Linked DNA regions of Homo sapiens: regions 1, 3, 4, 5, 6 and 7 are each linked to region 2. Evidence: promoter capture Hi-C in 16 types of primary human blood cells and fetal thymus (Javierre and others, 2016). All regions are on one chromosome and are shown on one strand. Each heading gives the region's core, a stretch centred on a gene start or on the middle of the fragment in contact. The rest is flanking DNA. Distances are from core to core; before and after follow the strand shown.

The links. The method cuts DNA at HindIII sites, captures the fragments that hold promoters and counts their contacts. A CHiCAGO score of 5 or more calls a contact.
Region 1: a fragment that was not itself captured here is called in contact with the fragment with the promoter of RPS3A in region 2 in 1 of 17 cell types (fetal thymus); the score reaches 8.8 in fetal thymus.
Region 3: a fragment that was not itself captured here is called in contact with the fragment with the promoter of RPS3A in region 2 in 4 of 17 cell types (fetal thymus, naive CD8 T cells, total CD4 T cells and 1 more); the score reaches 10.6 in fetal thymus.
Region 4: a fragment that was not itself captured here is called in contact with the fragment with the promoter of RPS3A in region 2 in 3 of 17 cell types (naive CD8 T cells, naive CD4 T cells and total CD4 T cells); the score reaches 6.6 in naive CD8 T cells.
Region 5: a fragment that was not itself captured here is called in contact with the fragment with the promoter of RPS3A in region 2 in 1 of 17 cell types (naive CD4 T cells); the score reaches 5.2 in naive CD4 T cells.
Region 6: a contact is called between a fragment that was not itself captured here and the fragment with the promoter of RPS3A in region 2, in 2 of 17 cell types (fetal thymus and naive CD8 T cells). The highest score is 9.1, in fetal thymus.
Region 7: a fragment that was not itself captured here is called in contact with the fragment with the promoter of RPS3A in region 2 in 1 of 17 cell types (naive CD8 T cells); the score reaches 7.6 in naive CD8 T cells.

The regions. Positions count from the first base shown.
Region 1 is chr4:152,529,004-152,531,703 of GRCh38, forward strand. The region is part of intron 2 of FBXW7 (F-box and WD repeat domain containing 7); the gene reads right to left. Among named protein-coding and RNA genes, the nearest start is that of FBXW7, 5.7 kb to the right of the region's middle. The HindIII fragment of the contact is 269 bases long and covers 1,157-1,425 here.
Region 2 is chr4:151,098,307-151,101,006 of GRCh38, forward strand. It overlaps RPS3A (ribosomal protein S3A), which reads left to right and starts at 1,322. Exons shown (of 6, transcript NM_001006.5): 1 at 1,322-1,408; 2 at 2,179-2,282; 3 at 2,669-2,700. The coding sequence starts at 1,347. RefSeq lists enhancers at 232-301, 579-1,778, 1,077-1,661, 1,082-1,641, 1,662-2,245. The HindIII fragment of the contact is 1,842 bases long and covers 1-1,810 here.
Region 3 is chr4:152,498,272-152,500,971 of GRCh38, forward strand. All of the region lies in intron 2 of FBXW7 (F-box and WD repeat domain containing 7), which reads right to left. Among named protein-coding and RNA genes, the nearest start is that of MIR3140, 10 kb to the left of the region's middle. The HindIII fragment of the contact is 2,847 bases long and covers 1-2,700 here.
Region 4 is chr4:152,390,206-152,392,905 of GRCh38, forward strand. All of the region lies in intron 4 of FBXW7 (F-box and WD repeat domain containing 7), which reads right to left. Among named protein-coding and RNA genes, the nearest start is that of FBXW7-AS1, 54 kb to the left of the region's middle. The HindIII fragment of the contact is 2,255 bases long and covers 185-2,439 here.
Region 5 is chr4:152,409,714-152,412,413 of GRCh38, forward strand. It overlaps FBXW7 (F-box and WD repeat domain containing 7), which reads right to left. Exons shown (of 14, transcript NM_001349798.2): 4 at 1,590-2,159. The coding sequence starts at 2,090. Among named protein-coding and RNA genes, the nearest start is that of FBXW7-AS1, 73 kb to the left of the region's middle. The HindIII fragment of the contact is 8,756 bases long and covers 1-2,700 here.
Region 6 is chr4:152,462,804-152,465,503 of GRCh38, forward strand. All of the region lies in intron 2 of FBXW7 (F-box and WD repeat domain containing 7), which reads right to left. Among named protein-coding and RNA genes, the nearest start is that of MIR3140, 25 kb to the right of the region's middle. The HindIII fragment of the contact is 535 bases long and covers 1,032-1,566 here.
Region 7 is chr4:152,371,779-152,374,478 of GRCh38, forward strand. The region is part of intron 4 of FBXW7 (F-box and WD repeat domain containing 7); the gene reads right to left. Among named protein-coding and RNA genes, the nearest start is that of FBXW7-AS1, 35 kb to the left of the region's middle. The HindIII fragment of the contact is 1,843 bases long and covers 484-2,326 here.

The DNA.
Region 1 (2,700 bases), core at 41-2,540, 1.4 Mb after region 2:
GACAAATTAACAGCAAGAATTCATTATTTAACAGCAACTTTACTCATCTTTTTGTAATGACAATTCAGTTACACTAAAAACATACACATTTTTCCCTGGTCCACTCAAAGTATCAACAAACTGGAATAATTTCTGTTTGGAGTATTTGCAGATAGAAGATGCACACCTTGTGTCTTTTAAATTGCCACTCATCCTTAGGCTTGGGACAATGATAAAATTACTTGAAAAGACAAAAATTAAAAGATTTTTTAAAATAATAAGGAAATAATCCTTTCCAAATAAATAGGGAAAGCAACTTTATAGTGACCTTCTAAAAGATGTACTAACATTGTCAGATTATATACTCTTTTTTTAAAAGGAAGAAGAAAAATTAAAAAGTAAATTGTTAGTTCAATTTAAGTAACAATATGTAGAAATACTACATATAAACTAAAAGCAGGTTTCAAACTAACTAAAAAGTGATCATTATTGCAAGAGTAATCTCCACCCCTGCCATAAACAAGGGAATCCTAAAATAAATAGGATTTATGAAACTAAATATACCATCATCCAATGTTGGTATCTGCTGACATATGAAACAAATATTTTAATATTAACTGTAATGTAAAATTGCACAAAGTGAATTACACTTTCTGAACAACACATGTGAGAAAGATTCACTCTTAAAAATATAGCAATGCTGGCCAGGTGTGGTGGCTCACGCCTGCAATCCCAGCACTGAGGGAGGTCGAGGTAGATGGATTACCTGAGCTCAGGAGTTAAGAGACCAGCCTGGGCAACATGATGCATGGCCTTTGGGGTTACCTGGTGGGTGCTAAAACACACACACATATACCCTCGAGGCTCTCTAATTCCCTATCAATCCAAAAGTTGTTACCCATCTCTATCAAAAATACAAAAAAATTAGTCGGGCATGGTGGCGCATGCCTGTGATCCCAGCCACTCGAGAGGCTGAGGTAGGAGGATGACTTGAGCCCAGGAGGTGGAGGTTGCAGTGAGCTGAGATCACACCACAGCACTCCAGCCTGGGTGACAGAATGAGACCCCGTCACAAAAAAAAAAAAAATACACACACACACACACACACACACACACACACGTGTATATATATACGTGTACATATATATATATACGTATATATATGTATATACATCAAAGCTTTTTAAAGTACACATTTAAATGATTTAAGTGATTTGTTAATATACACTAGTACTTGAAATTAACAAAACAAAAATTGCGATGTGTAATTCTACACACTGAATTAGCCACTGCAAGAGATTAAGACTTTAATAGATAGCAGTATCAAACTTTAATGCTCTTATAATTTGACTCATATTATTCAAACCAACCATAGACACTTCTAATTTTACACACGAAGTAAATGCTTTACATTTATTTTCAGAAGGTTTCAAAAGTATGCCCACAAGCTTCTTTACAGATACTTTTGGCCATGATACAAAGCCAGTATATCACTAAATGCCAACTGTGGTTATCTTTAGATAAGAAATGCAGGTAGTCCCTACTTTTTAGCTGCATCCCTTTAAAGATGGTATCACCCCGACCCTCAATCCATAGTTTTCATCACCATGAAGGCAAAAGTATTTTGTACAGTAGAGTATGTGCTTTATGCAGAATCATTTTAAATGAACTCAGAGAAAAACATCTCATCTAGAAAACAAAGACCACCAAAAATAGCCAGTCCTGGCTTTGTAGTGTAATAAAGCTCATACTGTTTGTTGGTGGATTTGGCAGTTGTCTATACCAGGAGTCCAAAAACTTCGGCCTATGGGCCAATTGGAGCACGGCAACATTCATTCACTTCCTTGTTGTCTACAGCTGCTTTCACACTATAAGAACAGAATTGAAAGTTGTGACAGATCATGTGGCCTGTAAAACCTAAAATATTTACTAACTGGCCCTTTACAAAAATAGTTTGCCAACTCTTTCTCTACACAATGAGATGTCAGAAGCACCAGAAGACTTCTCCAAGAACCATCTCCAAAGTACAATGAAATGAGCCTATGCATGGCCTTTGGGGTCATCTGGTGGGTGCTAAAACACACACACACACACAAACATATACCCTCAAGGCTCTCTAATTCCCTATCAATCCAAAAGTTGCCAAGGCAAAGTACATGAAGTTACCACTCTTCCCACTGTCCTCACTAGTAAATAACATTAACTATAAGTGGCTGCCTTCTAAAATTCATCTGAACATGGCTTCGACTGCACAAAAAATGTTGTGGAAAGTGGAGGATGACAAGAGAAGGCCTCCATATGGCATATAATCCAATCCCTATATTTTCACCCTAGAATCACCTTAGACCTATCTCCTTGTTGAAACATCTCTTCCCCAGAGTTTCTGCCATTTGAATAATCACTGTTAAGAAGTCAGAGAAGCTACTAGGAAGGTGCAGAATTCCAACTAAGGAACACAAAAAAGTGTGAATATATATTTCCTTCCTCACAATCCTTAATCCTGTTAAAGTCAATACTAAATGCAAGCCGCAAAAATGTCTACATTTTTTTAAATGCCAAGTTGCTTTTTTTTAATAAAAAGTTTAAAAGGAAAAAAAAAAAAAAAGCATGTTCAGCACTACTGTGCCTACACAGGGATATCCCCTCCATTGTATGGGACACAAAGACACACACCAACTGTGAACAAGGGAAGCAGCCTTCTCTGTCAGCTATTTTTGGCCT
Region 2 (2,700 bases), core at 72-2,571:
TTTTGGCTTGGTCACAGGGTTTTCTGCCAGAGGGGAAGTTAGAGAAGGGAACTCAACACACCACTGGCTGAGTACCAAGCCTGTATGGGCCAGATGCTTTCCGAGGGCTGCACACTTGAGCTAGCCAGCCACACCTTGCCAGGATGTGCTCTGTTAACCCCTACAGTTAAAAAAAATGGGGGAGGCGGGTTTGGATTAGTTGCAAAAATGGAAACATTTGGAGATCTCACTTTTTTTTTTTTGACGCAGTTTCACTCTTGTTGGCCAGGCAATGGCGCGATCTCGGCTCACTGCAACTTCCGCCTCCTGAGCTCAGATTCTCGTGCCTCAGCCTCCCGAGTAGCTGGGATTACAGGCACCCACCCGGCTAATTTTTTGTATGTTTAGTAGAGACGGGGTTTCACTATGTTGGCCAGGCTGGTCTCGAACTCCTGAGCTCAGGCGATCCGCCCGCCTCAGCCTCCCAAAGTGCTGGGATTACAGGCGTGAGCCACCGCGCCCGGCCAACGCCCTGCTAATTTTATCATTTTCTTGTAAAGACGGGGTCTGGCTGTGTGGCCCAGGCTAGTCTCCAATTCCTGGCTTCAGTTGATTCCCCTGCCTCAGCCTCTTAAAGTGCTGGGATTACAGGTGTGAGCCAACGAGTTCGGTCTCACTCTATTTTAAAAAAACCTTTTAATCAATATATAACAGACATATAGAAAAGGACACAAATAAGCGTAGAGCTTAGTGAATGTTCACAAAGCAACAACACCTGAGATGAACCAGCATCCACATCAACAAGCAGAACGTCGCTAGCATCTCTGGAGTGATGCTCATTTAGCCCTATGAAACCTCATGAAGCCGACCGTTTTATCACCCCCATATTACGCATGAGGAAACAAGCGTGGAGAGGTCGGTCTCAAGCAAAGCCCTGTTGAAACCGGCATTTGAATCAGATCCGCTGACTGACTCCAAAGCCAATGCTCTCAAAAAGCAGGTTTGGGGGTTAGACGGTGAGTTCAGCTTTGAACGATGTTGAGTGGGCGTCTCGTTTTACAGAAACTTACTTCCCGACGTCACAGCCACAGAAACCACAGGTAACCAGACGCCTGCACGTCAGGCCACCGACGCCTTGGTCTACACAGCGCAGCCTCCAGTGAGCCCGCGGCATGCCGCGCGGCCTCCCCACACACGATGGCGATGTCGCAACCACAGTAGAAAGAGTGGCGCTCTCTACTGTCCCGGAATTCTTGAGGCCGGAAGAATAACAGGGCAAAGGTCACGTAGACGGCGCGCCCCGCCCCCGTACGCCTAAGTTCTCGCGCGACTCCCACTTCCGCCCTTTTGGCTCTCTGACCAGCACCATGGCGGTTGGCAAGAACAAGCGCCTTACGAAAGGCGGCAAAAAGGGAGCCAAGAAGAAAGTGTAAGTCGCGACTGTCGTGGCGTCTTGCTTTTTGGGGGTCTGCTGGAATCGGCGGGCTGGTCCTAGATCGCGGCGTAGGCCGGATGGCGAGGATTCCAGTCGGATTGTGCGGGCCGTGGCGGGTTGGTGCACCCAGGAACGCGGCCTGGAGGGTCGGTGTTGAGTAGCGGCAGGTCGGCTGCCTTTCCCAGGCCTTCTGGTCCTTGCGCGCGTCGCGTTTGAGCCGGCTTGCCGGCGCGACTCGGCTGGAATGTTAGTTTTGTGGGCTCACGAGCTGCCTCAATTCTGCGAGTGTTTGATGGCACTGCGACAGCAGGAGTTGAGGAAAGCACCCTTCTATCCATTCAGGACCCGTCAATCTCGCCTTTGCTTGGTCCCGCTGGAATCTGCGAGCTCCTGCTAAGCTTTGGGGCCATGCAGTCTCTTAGTTACCAGTACATGCCATTACGTGCCAGCAAAGTTAATGAGATTGCATGTTACTCGTGCCTGTGTAGTGGAAGGACCGATGCATGTTATTCTAAGTGCCTGTGTAGTGGATGGACCGATGAGGGTGGGAAGTGGACATAACCTTTCAAAGTCTGATGCATGCAGTGAAACGTACAGTGGGAAGAGCTAGATTTATGTTTGTTCCCCTCACCTCACTGTGAGATATACTTTGGTATCAAATTGCCGGTTAGCTTTTTAAAATATTAATGGGAAATACCATTAACAGTGAAAAATACAGTAAGAATTGATCTGCAATGGAACTTAAGCATCTTCTTAAAATCCAGGGTTGATCCATTTTCTAAGAAAGATTGGTATGATGTGAAAGCACCTGCTATGTTCAATATAAGAAATATTGGAAAGACGCTCGTCACCAGGACCCAAGGAACCAGTAAGTAGCTTATTCTTGGTTTGTATTTTCCTTAAGTTGGCGCTTGTATATTGTAGCAGGCATCTTGGTCTGTTGTTGGTCCTGTGGTGGGAGACTTTAAGGAAATGTCAGCTCTTGGTTGCAGCCTTGGCACCTGTGGTGATCATTTTTAGTACAGCACTTGGAGAGAAGCAAGATGGTGCTTTTTGAATTAAGAAAATGTGCCATGGGTAGTTCTGAGCTTCAAATAAGTACTGTTGATAAGTCACTGGTGTCTGGATAGATTTGATAACAAAGGTTAAGGTCTTTATAATTTACCATTAACTTAATTTCTACCCTCAGTTTACAGGCTTGACTTTGCTTATATGGTTCCTAAATGTTAAGATACTTGTTTTTTTCTTTTGTAGAAATTGCATCTGATGGTCTCAAGGGTCGTGTG
Region 3 (2,700 bases), core at 118-2,617, 1.4 Mb after region 2:
GAAATAGAAGGCTTTTGTCAAGGCAAAAAAAAACTCATAAAACATTAAGAAGACAGTAATTCAGAAGATATGATCACCTACTAACGAAAACTACTGAGAGGCAAGTCTCAGACTCCTTGAGGAAGATGGAAATTGGGCCTCATGGCCAGACTATGCATCTAACTAGTTTATTATCTCAGCTCATTCAGCCTGGCATCACTGTGATTCTCAGCAACTCTCATCACTATATATTATGAGGGTGACTGTGCTGAACCTTGAATCTAATAGGTGCAAGACATTCTGTTGGACAATGCAAGCGATATAAAGAGGCATAGTACTAGTTTTCAGGGAGCTTATCATTTAGTGCGGAAGCTAAGATGCATACAGAAAAACAAAACAAAACAAAAAAACACCTTGCACTTAATGTCTAAACAAGTGCTACTGGAATTCAGAGGAAGAAAAAAATCCATCAGGCTGCTGGGATGGTATAAGAAAGGTTTCATAACAATAGTGGAGCTCAAGCCAAGTAGCAAAGAAGAAAAAGCAATTCAAAAGGTACAAAAATTGGCATTCCTGGTAAGAAAAAATGACAGCAAAGGATTGCAGAGCTCTAGGAAGGGAAAAAATAGAGTATAAGTGCTTGACAATTTTTAGATCTCAATTAGAAAAATAAAATATTTTGACGATAAATAAAATCTTTAAAGTTAGACGATCAATCAGGGCTCTAAGCTATAAACAGAATCTATTTGAGGTGGTTTCAAGAGAAAATAAATTTATTAATATATTAGGGGATTCCAAGAATTATCAGAGAACTGAAGAATCCACTTGGAGATATGATGCCAGGAAAAATACCTAAGTCTCCCCACCAAATTGTTCCCATCCTTCAGCCCTAGTACCATGAAAGCTGAGCCTAGGACAACAAGGCTCACTAGTATCTCTGTCACTGCTACCTCTAAACAGCTCAATATCTTGTCACTCAACATGCACATTAGAAAGCAATTCCAGGCAAGAGCTGTTACCCTGCATTTCTCTGACCCTGAATTCATGTCTTACACAGATGCATCTGATCAATAAAGCCTAGGTCATATGCTTGTGCCCTAGCTGCAAGGAATACTAGGAAATTGAGTTCTGACTCTATAAAACATGAACATGCAAATTTATCCAACATTGAGAGGCTATTTGAAATGAGAAACCACAAATACAGATCAAGTCTATGCTTCCAATCAAGATCCTCAAACCTGACAGATTATAACTAAGCCTTGTACAAACAAGACTCTCTCTGTTCCTCATATGGAGGTAAGAACCAGAGACTTATCAGTTATTGCACACAGCTCCAATATCAGAATCTCTCGGTGATATCCCCCTCCTTCCTGTTTTCTCATATAACCCATGAAGTAAACTGCAAAAAGGGGGCAGCCTCCTGAGCAGCCAGGACCACAGGCTCACGCAGCCATGCCCAAAACACAAAAGTTAACTTTTGTGTTTTTTGTAGAGACAGGGTTTCACCATGTTGCCCAGGCTGGCCAACTCACTCTTATGGTAGTTCAAGTAAGGCCTTCTCCTATGAGACCTAAAATTTTTTGCTCATACAGATAAAGTAGGATCTTAATAGGCTTCCTCTCTATTTTAGACGTAGGGATCCATGATCATTTAGTCACAGCCAAAAAGAATTCAAGTCAGTGCATCTCTGATCATCATGCCTGTCAAGCTACCTTATGAAAATGATGCCTGGACCTTACCTAGAATCTGGCCACACCCCCTGAAGTAAAAAAGACAATTTCAATGAAAGTATCTCCTCCAGCCTACAGACAAAAGCAATTGAATTACTTTTCATATATGCTGGCACTGCCCTCAAAGTATTTCTCATTAGGTTGGTGAATGAAGTGTCTTCCAGACCTCTTAGTAGAGAATACTGGAGAGGGAATAGGGGAGGTAAGTGAATGGTCACAGTGATAAATCCACTCCATCAGTTCTATTTCCTTTAATCTTTTGACTTCTTCCTCTATATTATGCTATGAGTTTTTAGGCATTCAACTTCATTTAGTATAAGTCAATGCTGAGACCAAAGGAGCAAACAATTAGAACCACTCCTGGCTACTTGAACGAGAACAATGAATTCAGAATCTCTGATAACTGCACCATACCAATACATTCAGCCAAATGCAAAAGCATGTTTCTTTCTCTCTCACATCATCATCATCACCCATTTCTGTACATATTCCTGAAGGTTTTGCTGCTTTGTCAGCAAAAAAAAAAAAAAAAAAAAAAAACTTTAAAAAAATTACATATAATCCTTTTCTTCCCATTGTGACTGCAAAGGTGCAGCATGATATAGTCTGACTCCAGTTACAGGTATGGAAACATGAGTATCGTGGGAAGGGGTATGAGGAAACTAGCTTCCCCATGGATGGTAACTGTCTTAAGCAAGGTTGTTAACACAGGGAAGGATGGCTTCTGCTAGCAGGAGAGACTCAGAGTTTGGAGACTTGAAGTACTATGTGTCCGCAATTCCCCATATACAGAAATGTATTCAAAAGATTATTAGCAGCCAAAAATATCACATGTACAATTTAAAAAGTGGGTATTTATAAATTGCAATTCTGTTTCCTCATATTTTCTTAAAATTAAGCAACATAAGATTTCTTCTATTTGGTTTTGTTACCATGCATTTGATTAATATTAATTATCACAACTTCACACTAAGATCAGGCAGCATTATGG
Region 4 (2,700 bases), core at 62-2,561, 1.3 Mb after region 2:
TATTTCTATTATTTGTGCCTAAGAACTTTAGTTGTTAAAATACTTTTCCTCATCCTTTCATTAAGCATTTTAAAAAGTACTTAAGATAAAACAAAAATCCAACTATCCCACTGAATTTTCTAAGTATTTCAGAAATGCCCAGTATGAAGTCTTCAATGACTTAACATAACCTGTCTCATGATTAAGCTTAACTCTTACAGGCTGAGCTGGGTTACCCCAGCTGTTAAAATGGCCTTACACAGCTGCTCACCAAGAATTTAGTTCGTGATTATTATAGTTACACCTTTAAGTCAACTATGACAAAAATGACACAGTAATTACAGGTATTTCAGTCATGCAAAAAGCCTCATGTAATGACAGAGTAAGTGATTTAAAGTAACCTAATTTTCCATAATTCTCAAAATAAAATTTAAGTCTAAGAAAGACAATAACTTCTTTAATGTCAGTACTTAAGTCCATAAACAGTTTAAACATAACAGTTTAAACTTTCAGTTAAAATAAATTAAACATTACTTACCAATAATATCTTTCTCTTATAAAAATTCTTAAGAGTATTGCAGGCCAGGGAGTCATAATACTAATTATACTAATAATTAGGACTAAGGAAATAATACTAATATTCTTTTAAAATACAGTAAGTAATTGTGTGTTTTTTTGCTACACAGCTTTAAAAAATTAAGCTATAATGCAGAAGGCTCAACCAAATTGACAGTTTGACAAATTATAAAAATTTATCTTATGAAAAATAAAAAGCTACACTTATGGAAACATAAAAAATCTGAAGGAGTGCTGGTGCTTTAAATAGGTAAAATAGGAGGGGGACATTATTTCCTATACTGTTGAGTTTCTGATGCAATTATAAATAAAAATCAATATATTTTGAGAAAGATAAACATAGTACCATACTTCATTTATATAATTTTCAGTAATGTGCTATGCAAGTATGTGAGATTTATTAATATTAACTGAAAGTACTTCAGCACAGAATTTAAGTATAGAATTAAAGTACAGAAAACAAGTATAAGATTAAGCAATAGAAAATACATATTTAGAACTTAATTCTTGGACGGGCTGACAGTTGATACCACTGGCCTTTTACGCTGTCAATATTACATACTCAAAAAAATAATTTTTCTGAAAAATATCAATGTTATTTTTTGTAGCTGAGGTTTAAATTAAGCTGAGAGCCTAAGTTTTCATTCTTTACAGTAAGTAAAACACTAACTGGCTATCAAGAAAAATTAGAAACAAAGAAATAAAATTCAATTCCTACTATTCTTTAGTATGCCTGTAATACAAAGATCTTGGGATAGAAAGATAAATAAGTCTAAGGAGACTATCAGAGATCAGTAAGAGATATAAAGGAAGTCTGCAGCTATAGGGCTTAGAAAATACGTACGCATTGTTTCAGACTGGAACAATGATAAGGGGAAGAGATTAAACACTGACAAGAGTTTCTACTAGATCATGCTTTGTATCACTTAATCACCACGCCGAAACCCTGAGGTATCATTATCCTTGTCTACTTGTTACAGACAAAACTAAGGCTCAGAAAGGCTTACAAATTTGCCCAAGGTAACACAGCTGCCAGGTAGTAGAGTTGAGATTTTAACCCTGGTATGTCTAATTCCTAAACCTGTGCTTTGTAACAGAACATCTATCCAATTCCACAGAATGTTACATCCTAACTTAGTTGTGTTACTTCCTAAATTAGTTGTTCGGAGACACTTCTTTGTCAGTGTTTCAGATATGTAAGTTTGTCAGATATAAATGAGTTCTAGATAACTGAAATAAAGTATTGTATAAGACATTTACATATTAAATATGGAATGTTTTAATGTGCCTGATTTTTATGAAGCCCAAATTTAAAAAAAGAAACAGGAATAACATCAAAGATATTATGAACTCTTATAGCAAATTGTATTCTCAAAGGTAGTCACAACGCTGTCCCCCATCTTGCATGCTCTTCTTGCAAGGTGACTCTGAGACTCCTTTCACTAAGAGGGAGAGGCCATGTCCTCTTGCCTTAATAACAGGCCAGACCTTTGTGACTGTTTGGACCATTAGAGATAGTAAAAATGGTATCATGTGACTTCACAGGCTGAGTCATAAAAAGGAGATTCAGCTTCCACCTTGCTTGCTGGAACACTCACTTGGTAGTCCTGATGTGCTGGCTAAGTAGTACCTTCAGGCCACCATGCTCTGAAGAAGCCCAAACTAGCCCAGGTAAAAAGACCGTATTATATAGAGATGTTAGGAGATGATACGGAAAAAGAATTTCTGGGTCAGCCCTCAGCTGTTCTAGACCCCCACTTTTGCACCTCCAGCCATGATCTGACTGCCACCCAGAGTTAACAATGGCCAGATCAGCCCTCCTCAAATTACAAACCTATAAGAACAATGAGAAATAATAAAATTCTCGTTTGTTATAATCCACAAAGCTTTGACGGTGATTGGTCAGGTGACAATGGATAACCGAGACATCTTATAAAACAAGGAGCTCTAAGTTGGTTTATAGTCATCCTAGTGGAGTGTTAATTTTACAATGTAACAGGAATGGAAAGGACAACAGGTGATTCAAAATGAAAACGTTAAGTGATCATCTTGAGGATGGCAAAATTTTGGGTGACAATTTCCCACCTTGACACTCAATGGAAATGAGGCCTTAGCAAGTTTCTATTTTCATAATAAAACTTTTTA
Region 5 (2,700 bases), core at 37-2,536, 1.3 Mb after region 2:
AAATGCATACACACATCTATACTGTACATGTGTATATACATAAATGCATACACACATCTATACTGTACATGTGTATATACATAAATGCATACACACATGTATTCCTTCTATGGTTAGAGCCCAGTCCATTCTTGTTATATGTACAGGACAATAATTGTTATTCATGATTCAGAATCACTAGAAAAAAACTAACAAATTCAGTATACTTCGTTTTTAAAAAGGTAATCATCATACACAAAATTTTACATCTTGAAGGTAAAGAAAAGATAAAGCACCTGTCAAACTTGTGAACTGGAAGGTTTCCTACAGAATATAAGGATGACTTTTCCTTTTGGAAAAAGATAATGTTTTGTCTAACTAGCTTTTTTTGCTTTTAATTTAAAGTGTAGCAGAAATCAGCAATAACTCTGCATTGTTCCGCAAGGCTTAGTTTTGATTGAACCTCTTTCTGAAATAAGTTAGTGCAATTGGACCTTAAGTATTAAACCCCTATTCCTCTAACTGAACCCTCAGGAAAAAAAGAGATGTTAAAACTCCCTTTTGATATAGCAACCTTGAAGAAGATGATCAAGACTAGGGGGGCAAAAGGGAGGAATGACACTATAAAAGGTCTGAGCCTTAACAAAGTGGTGCTATAGTTGTTAGTGGTAGAGCCATCTGGCTGAGATCCAAAGCTACTGCTTCAACATCTTGAGACAGGGATGGTACAATGGATGAAAAATCACTACTTGATGTCACGTCCTTCTTAGATCATGCCAGCTAAATAAAATCTGACTTGCAGATAGGCTAGGTAAATTAGGGCCAAACACATTTTAGAAAGTAAGGTTTTACAAGCAGATGTAAAACATGATTTAGCATTTCAATTATTATTAATCCAAGTGTGTAAGATACTTCATTCCAAGTCAAGTTAGGTTAAACGATACGATGTTAAATCAGTTTGTATATTGTTTATGGCCTAAAATCACTGTAAAATGTAAGAAATAAGCAAGTAGGAGTAAGAGGATGAACTACCACAGACATTATGTTAATGTCTATAAAACAAGTATATTCAAGTTAAAATGTTCCTTTCCAAAACATAGTTTAACTTGTAAGTCTACTCTACATGAATATTCATTATTTCTAATTCTCAAATGATAAATAACTAGAACTAATTTGAGGCAACTTCTGAGTAATTTATGCCTTAGAGTGACACTTGTGAATAGCCCACTCTAGCAGCTGCATTTTGTAAATAAAAAGTTTCTTCATTACTTGATTTACACAAATCATGTTTCACCCGAAACCTCTACACCCCACACAAGCTACTAATCCCTGCCCGGGACGCAAGGTTTAGACGAAAATTTGATGTTAATAATTTTTCATAGTAATAGGCTCAATTACTTTCCCTCCATTTGTACTCAGATTGTCCCATTATCAGTATTTCTACTTGTAATACTTTCCATTACCTTCTGTAAGACAAAAAACTAGTTCATTTTATTATTACACATCTTAAGATTAATTTTTAGTAATACAAAGACTGTGAGGAAAGTTTCATTACAATTAAAATAGATATGTAAAGTTTCTCAGGTTAACAATATATTGAATATACTCACTTTTGTTGTTTTTGTATAGAATGGGGAGGAGAGTTGGTGAACGGGCAGGTCCACAATACTACTGGAGTTCGTGACACTGTTAGTATGTGTATGTTCATCTTCTCTGCTACTATCATCAGACTGATCAAAATCGTCACTCTCCTGGTCCATCTCCTCCTCCTCCTCATCCTCCTCATCTTGTTCACCAGCATGTTCTTCATCTTCCTCTTGTTCTTCTTGGTTTCCTGAGGAGTCCTCATCTACCGAAATAAATCTATTATTGTTTTCTTCCAACTGTCCTTGCTGGGAATCATTTTGGCCTCCAGGTCTAGGTTCTACTCCAACAACTTCACCATTCCTTGCAGTGTGCTCCTCCTCTTGTTGTCTGAGTTGCTGTTGCTGTTCCTCCTCTACCACACGATTCATCTGTTCTTCATCTACCTGGCTTGAGGAAGGGTTACCTCTCAGAGAGCCTCCAGTTCGTCGTCTTTTGCTGCCCACAGAGAGCAGTTCCTGATTCATTTCCAAAAGCCAGCTTGCTACTTCTTGGACCTTGGCTAGACTATCAGAAGATGCAAAGGTTTTCACATTCTGCAGGGGAAAATAGGGTAAAAAACAAGATTTGTACAATCTATATTATGTTCTACTTTCATGTTATATGTCTACTTTCTAAATATCATTAATGATTGCAAAAAAGTATTGATGCCACCAAGGCATTAAAATGTTCTTTAGTAAACAATATAGAACATTTCAATTTTAAAAGTTATAAGACTTTATAAAGACATGCACAAAAACCATAGTAAACAACACTAATCCCTTTTAATAATTTTTAGCATGAAGATTTATAGTTTAATTCCTTTGACCAATAAAACATAATATTTCAAGCAAATAAAACAATTTTAATTTTACATCAGTAGTTCATAGACTATATCCTATATAAAACTTCCACAAAATTTTAAGAAGTGTATCAAAAAAAATTTTCAGTGTTCAGTTAATTTGGGAAATGCTGAGGTAAATCAGATTAAAAGGCTTTTTACCCTGGGTATTTCCCAAACTTTTCTGATCACAGAATCTTGCCTTCAGACACAGTTTTCTAGCAGGTAACAATTATAATCATTATTATTTTAATTTT
Region 6 (2,700 bases), core at 49-2,548, 1.4 Mb after region 2:
AAATTCTAATTAATGAAAAATTTCTCACATCCTTGATTTCTATTCCTTCCACCAAGTTAAAATCTTTACCTCATCAGACAAGAATTTGAAGTACTCCCACTTCCACTTCCAGTCTTTTTTTTTTTTTTTTTTTAATCTCACATAGTACACTGAGTAATTTCTTGTCTGGTATATTACTTGTATCATTATAAAGAATGTTTTTGGCTGGGTGTGGTGGCTTATGCCTGTAATCCCAGCACTTTGGGAGGCTGAGACAGGTGGGTCACTTGAGGCCAGGAGTTCAAGACCAGCCTGGTCAACATGGTGAAACTCCATCTATACTAAAAATACAAAAATTAGCTGGGCGTGGTGGTGGGCGCCTGTAATCCCAGCTACTTGGAGGCTGACGCATGAGAATCACTTGAATCCAGGAGGCAGAGGTTGCAGTGAGCCGACACATCACACCACTGCACTCCAGCCTGGGCGACACAGTGAGACTTTCTGTCTCAAAAAAAAAAAGAATGTTTTCTGTGAAAACTAGGAAACATGTCACCAGAAACTTCGTTGTAAGTTTAAACTCCACCATTACCCACAAAACCATAAGGAAATCACAATCTCTGTGATTTTTATTTCCACCATCTGCAGACAAAAATGTCATCTTCCTCATTAGTCAAACTTAGGACCAAAATATGACAACTAATATTAACAAGTGTAGACAAGAAGTGGTCAGAGATATTACAGGGCTTGTGACATGAGAATAGGTGGACAGTTAAAACCATTATCTTAAGAAAAAAAAAGACAGATAAGGAGTTAGTTCATGATTCAAAAAGCATTTACTTAGTTCCAACCATATAGCAAGCATTGTACAAGACAAACTTTCCACTGGGAAATAACAATTTTGGGGTGCTAAGGACCTGGCGACTGAGAAAGTGGTAAAACAGGTCACTAAGAAAAATGTGGTATTTCTGAGTCATCAAATTTGTGATAATCTACATAATGAACACGAGACCATCTCCTCAAAATGATGTGTAATGAAAAAGAGCTAAGAGCAAAGCTTCAACCCAATTTATATATAAGTGGTATATAAAAGAAGAAAGCAGTAACAAAGAAAACAAACATTTAGCCAGAGAGAGGAGAAAAACCATTAAGGTTTATTACAGAAGACAAAGGAGAAGTGAATGTTAAGCAGCAAAAAAACAAATGCTAAAAAAGACAGGAATGGATGAAAAGTGAAAAGACAAAGATTTAGCCATTTGGAACTCAGTTTTATCTTGGAAATAATAGCATGTTTACGGCCAGATCCGTCCAGCTAATGTTTATCTACCTAGTTAAGTAAGAAATGTGTTTACTTACACTTAAGAAAGCTGAACACTAGTAGAAATAATAGTCAAACTTCAGAAAGTAATTGAGTAAGAGTTGAGAAATTGGAGACACCTAGAATGGACTATAACAACCTTGGAGATAATGGGAAGGAAGTAACGTACTTTTCAAGATTAAGTCTGATAAGGCAGAGAACCCAGCATGGAGCATTAAGAGGAAGAAAAATAGTAGAGGAAAGAAGGGCTAAGATTAAAAACAGAGATAATAAGCTTTTGAAATGAAAACACTTTATTCTTTAAGACAGACTGAGGAAAAAGGGTATAAAATATGAAATGAAAAAGGAATAAGAGAACTAGGGATAGGACTGTTCATTTGAGCACAGTAGAATGGTTCCAAATAACTAACATGCAGAATGAAACAGATCAAAAAGATAAAAATTACCAGGAAGGAACCTGCATAAACTAGGAAGGGAAAATGTTAATTTGTACTAGAAACCTCTCAAGGCAGGAAACTGATGAAACTCTAGCAACGCTAGGCAGCACATGAAGAGGAAACAAAAGCAGAAGAAATGAACAGTTGTAATTAATTAAAATGACAGACTAGAAATTGTGTGAAGACAGTTAAAGAGATTTTGGAAATCTCAGGTATTCAAAATAATAAAGTCAAGACGTCTATGTATGTGGCTTAATCTGGATTAAGTTTTTCATTAAAGAAGTAAATATTGAAAAAAGCTTTTAAGAAATATTCTCTGCAATGATGTGATTACTGCAATAACTTTATTGGAAGAAAAAGGGGTCAGTATTACTGTTCAATGATTTGCAGACATTTGTGCAAAAACAGTATTGGCAATTAGAATAATCCAAGTCCAGTTGAGCCTTTCTGAGTAAGATTAGTAATCAAAGATCCATCTAATGAAGAACAATTTAATTGTTCTATTCATATAACCAGAACCAGTATCTCCAAGGTGTATTATTGGTCAGCAGAGCAGCAAAGCAGGACATGACCTGAGAAGCTGTGCTACCTATTATATATGGAAGCGACTATAGACTCTAGTGACAAATTAGTGGTTTAAAGGGTACTTACCTTCAAGGAAAAAAAAAAGTCTCTACTGACATCAAAACCTTATTTAAAATATAAATACTTAAAGAAAATTAATGTATACTCAATTATTATGATAGTAAGCACACAGAACAAGAGAAGGGAAGAGGAAAGAATCGGATATAAAAGCTATTTTGCCTTAATTCAGCCATAAATAGGTCACCAAAATCCTCTTAATTACCACATTTGATATAAACAATTGGAGGTAGCTCTCAATTATGTCTTTTCCTTACTGTCATCACAATTGAAAATTTAACAACATCATTAATAAGTTTTTCATTTCCTTTTCCATTGCTAAATTTC
Region 7 (2,700 bases), core at 155-2,654, 1.3 Mb after region 2:
GCCTGGCTATTAGCAGATGCTTATTTGTTGAATAAATTAATTAAGCCATGTTCATCTAATTTTGATATGTGACCATGAAATGTGGATGATGAGACAAGTCTCTCAGAGACATGAAGGCATTTGTGGATTCCTTAAGGGAAAGGTGTGCTGTCTTATTCATCTTTGTAACAGTAGCAACACACACAGAGAGTATGCATACTATATATCAGCAGATTAAAATTAATTTTGTGGTGTTAATTTCCCATGGAAATACTGGGACAATTAAAAAAAATGTGGTTGAGGTTCTCTACACTCATTTAAAGAATAAGTCTATTAGCATGAGCTGTATTTTAATCACTGAAGAAAAGTAATATAAAAGCTCCAAACTATCATTGTATTATATGGTTATAATAGCCTATAATTAGGTTAATAAACTTTAGGTACTCATCTATATATGTATGTTTTAAAGTATTTAATATGCATGTACTCAGAGACTTAAGATAAAGCTTAGACTACTCTGACATTTCAAAGTGTGTTCAGTTTTTTATGAGTGGGTGACAGTTGTAAAACTCTAAGGTCTCTGGATTTAGTTCCATGCTCTTGGAGACAGCTGTGTTCCTAAATTCAGAATATTTTGAATTGTAGAAAGGTAACAGAGTGCATATACTATTTATTACAGAGCACTTCCAGTATATCACACATTAGTGTTTCTCCAGCAAAATATATGAATATTCAGATAAATAATAAAGATGACTGTTTTATGTTAGTTTGGGTTAGGTTTTGCTACCTTTATTTTTAAATTTTCAGTTTTCAGAGCATGATGGATTTCTGCTTTGCAGACAAGGGACTGTGGACTTATTTCACACTTGTTTACCTTGCCAGGAGCTTAGTTCCAAGTTTATTTTTAGCATATTTTTCATCTGTCTTCTATATTACAAGCCTCAACATTAAGTTAGTTTCTGTAAAACCTAACTTAGTTTATATTTACAAATTTAAATAGCCTTGCCCTTTGATGTCAAAATTATACAAATTGTTACCTAATTAAAAATTTGTTACATAAAAGACAAAATCATACAAGTTGTTTCCATAGTGTAGTTACAGATTTATAAATCATGTGCTAAGTCGCTTTGTACTCCTATCTGACAACTAGGGCACAACCCAATACTAAAACATCATCTGATGACAAAAACATACAGAAGGCAGTATTATCAGTAATTAGATATTGAGACCATCATAAATTGTTGGGAAAGGTGAGAATTACACATTTAAAATTCCAAGATTATATGGCAAAAGTTAACCCTTAAAACATTTGGACACTAAGGGTCTGTTCAACAAATGCCTACTCCAGATCCGTTTCCTGCAGTGGCTGTGATGCTGGAATAAGACTGCTTGAGTTAGTGTCCTAGCTACATTACTTACTAGCTAAGGGGCAAGAACCTTCCTATGCCTGAGATTCCTCACGTGTAAAACAGGTAAAATACAATACAACGTACTTCACAAGGTGATTTTAAGGATTAAATGAGTTTATGTATAGAAAGTAACTAGAGTAGTGCCTCTTCTACATCCCAAATCATACCTTATTCTATTACCCTATTTTACTGTCATCAAAATATTAACAGTAGTATTTATTTTCTGTCTCCCCAAACTACAATCTAAGCTCCATGAGGGCATGGCCTTTGTCTATCAAGTTCACTGTTATATCTACAGTTTCTAGGAAAGTTCTCTACTCTAGGTGCTCAATACGTATTTTTTCAACATTAATAAATTGACGGCAAGATGTAATTTGCAGCAGTATACTTAATATGAAAAAACATAAGACAAGACACGATCCCAAGCAATGATACAAGTTCCCTCTATCACTCCTCTGATCACCTACTTAGCAAACATCTTCATGTTTTAATTCAGGGTTACTGTGAAGCCCTTCCTGAACCACTCATATTGAGCTCTGAGTGCCTCCTCATACTCTGACAGTACTTTGTACGTAGGTCCATTTAAGCAGTTATTATTTTGTACTATAATGGTTTGTTTGTAGTTTTATCACTGTGACTTTTCATTTGTGCATGGGCATGGGGGATCATCATCTTATTTATAGCCGGTGGCTTGCACAGCACAGAGAATGCAAAGAAAACCGACAATTACATTGCTTACTCATGTTGATGCATGATGTGTGAAACATTCTTAAAGAGAAAAAGACCAAAGGATCTAAAATAGAATGGTCTGATATGTGATAACTGACAGTAATTAATGCCTTTATTGATAAAGTAAGTAGTGACCATAAAAAACACCAAAGGATCTGGAAATGTTTATATTTTCCAAGTACCAATGGAAGATATATGCAAGTAAGAGAAGCTTAGAAAGCCACATTTTAGTTTCCTCACTCAAAAACAAACAAACAAAAACAAAACAAACCAAAAAAACCCCACCACAAAACAGGTACCCTATTAAATTCCCTCTCTAAATTTGCTCATACCACCACCCTATTCTTTCTTCTCTTCAAAGTACTGTATTTTTTTTCTCTATTTCAGCATTTTCTGATATTTAGGAGCTACTCTAGACTCCCAAAAGTACCACCTAAATGACTATACCATGTGTGTTTCTTTTTCATTTTCAAAATTAGTACATAGTAATTACTTTTAAAATTAAGTGTCAAACTGTATCTGAGTTTCGTTAAATTTAGAAAATGAAATATTCAAAATCACAGCTGCACAGTCACTTAAAAAC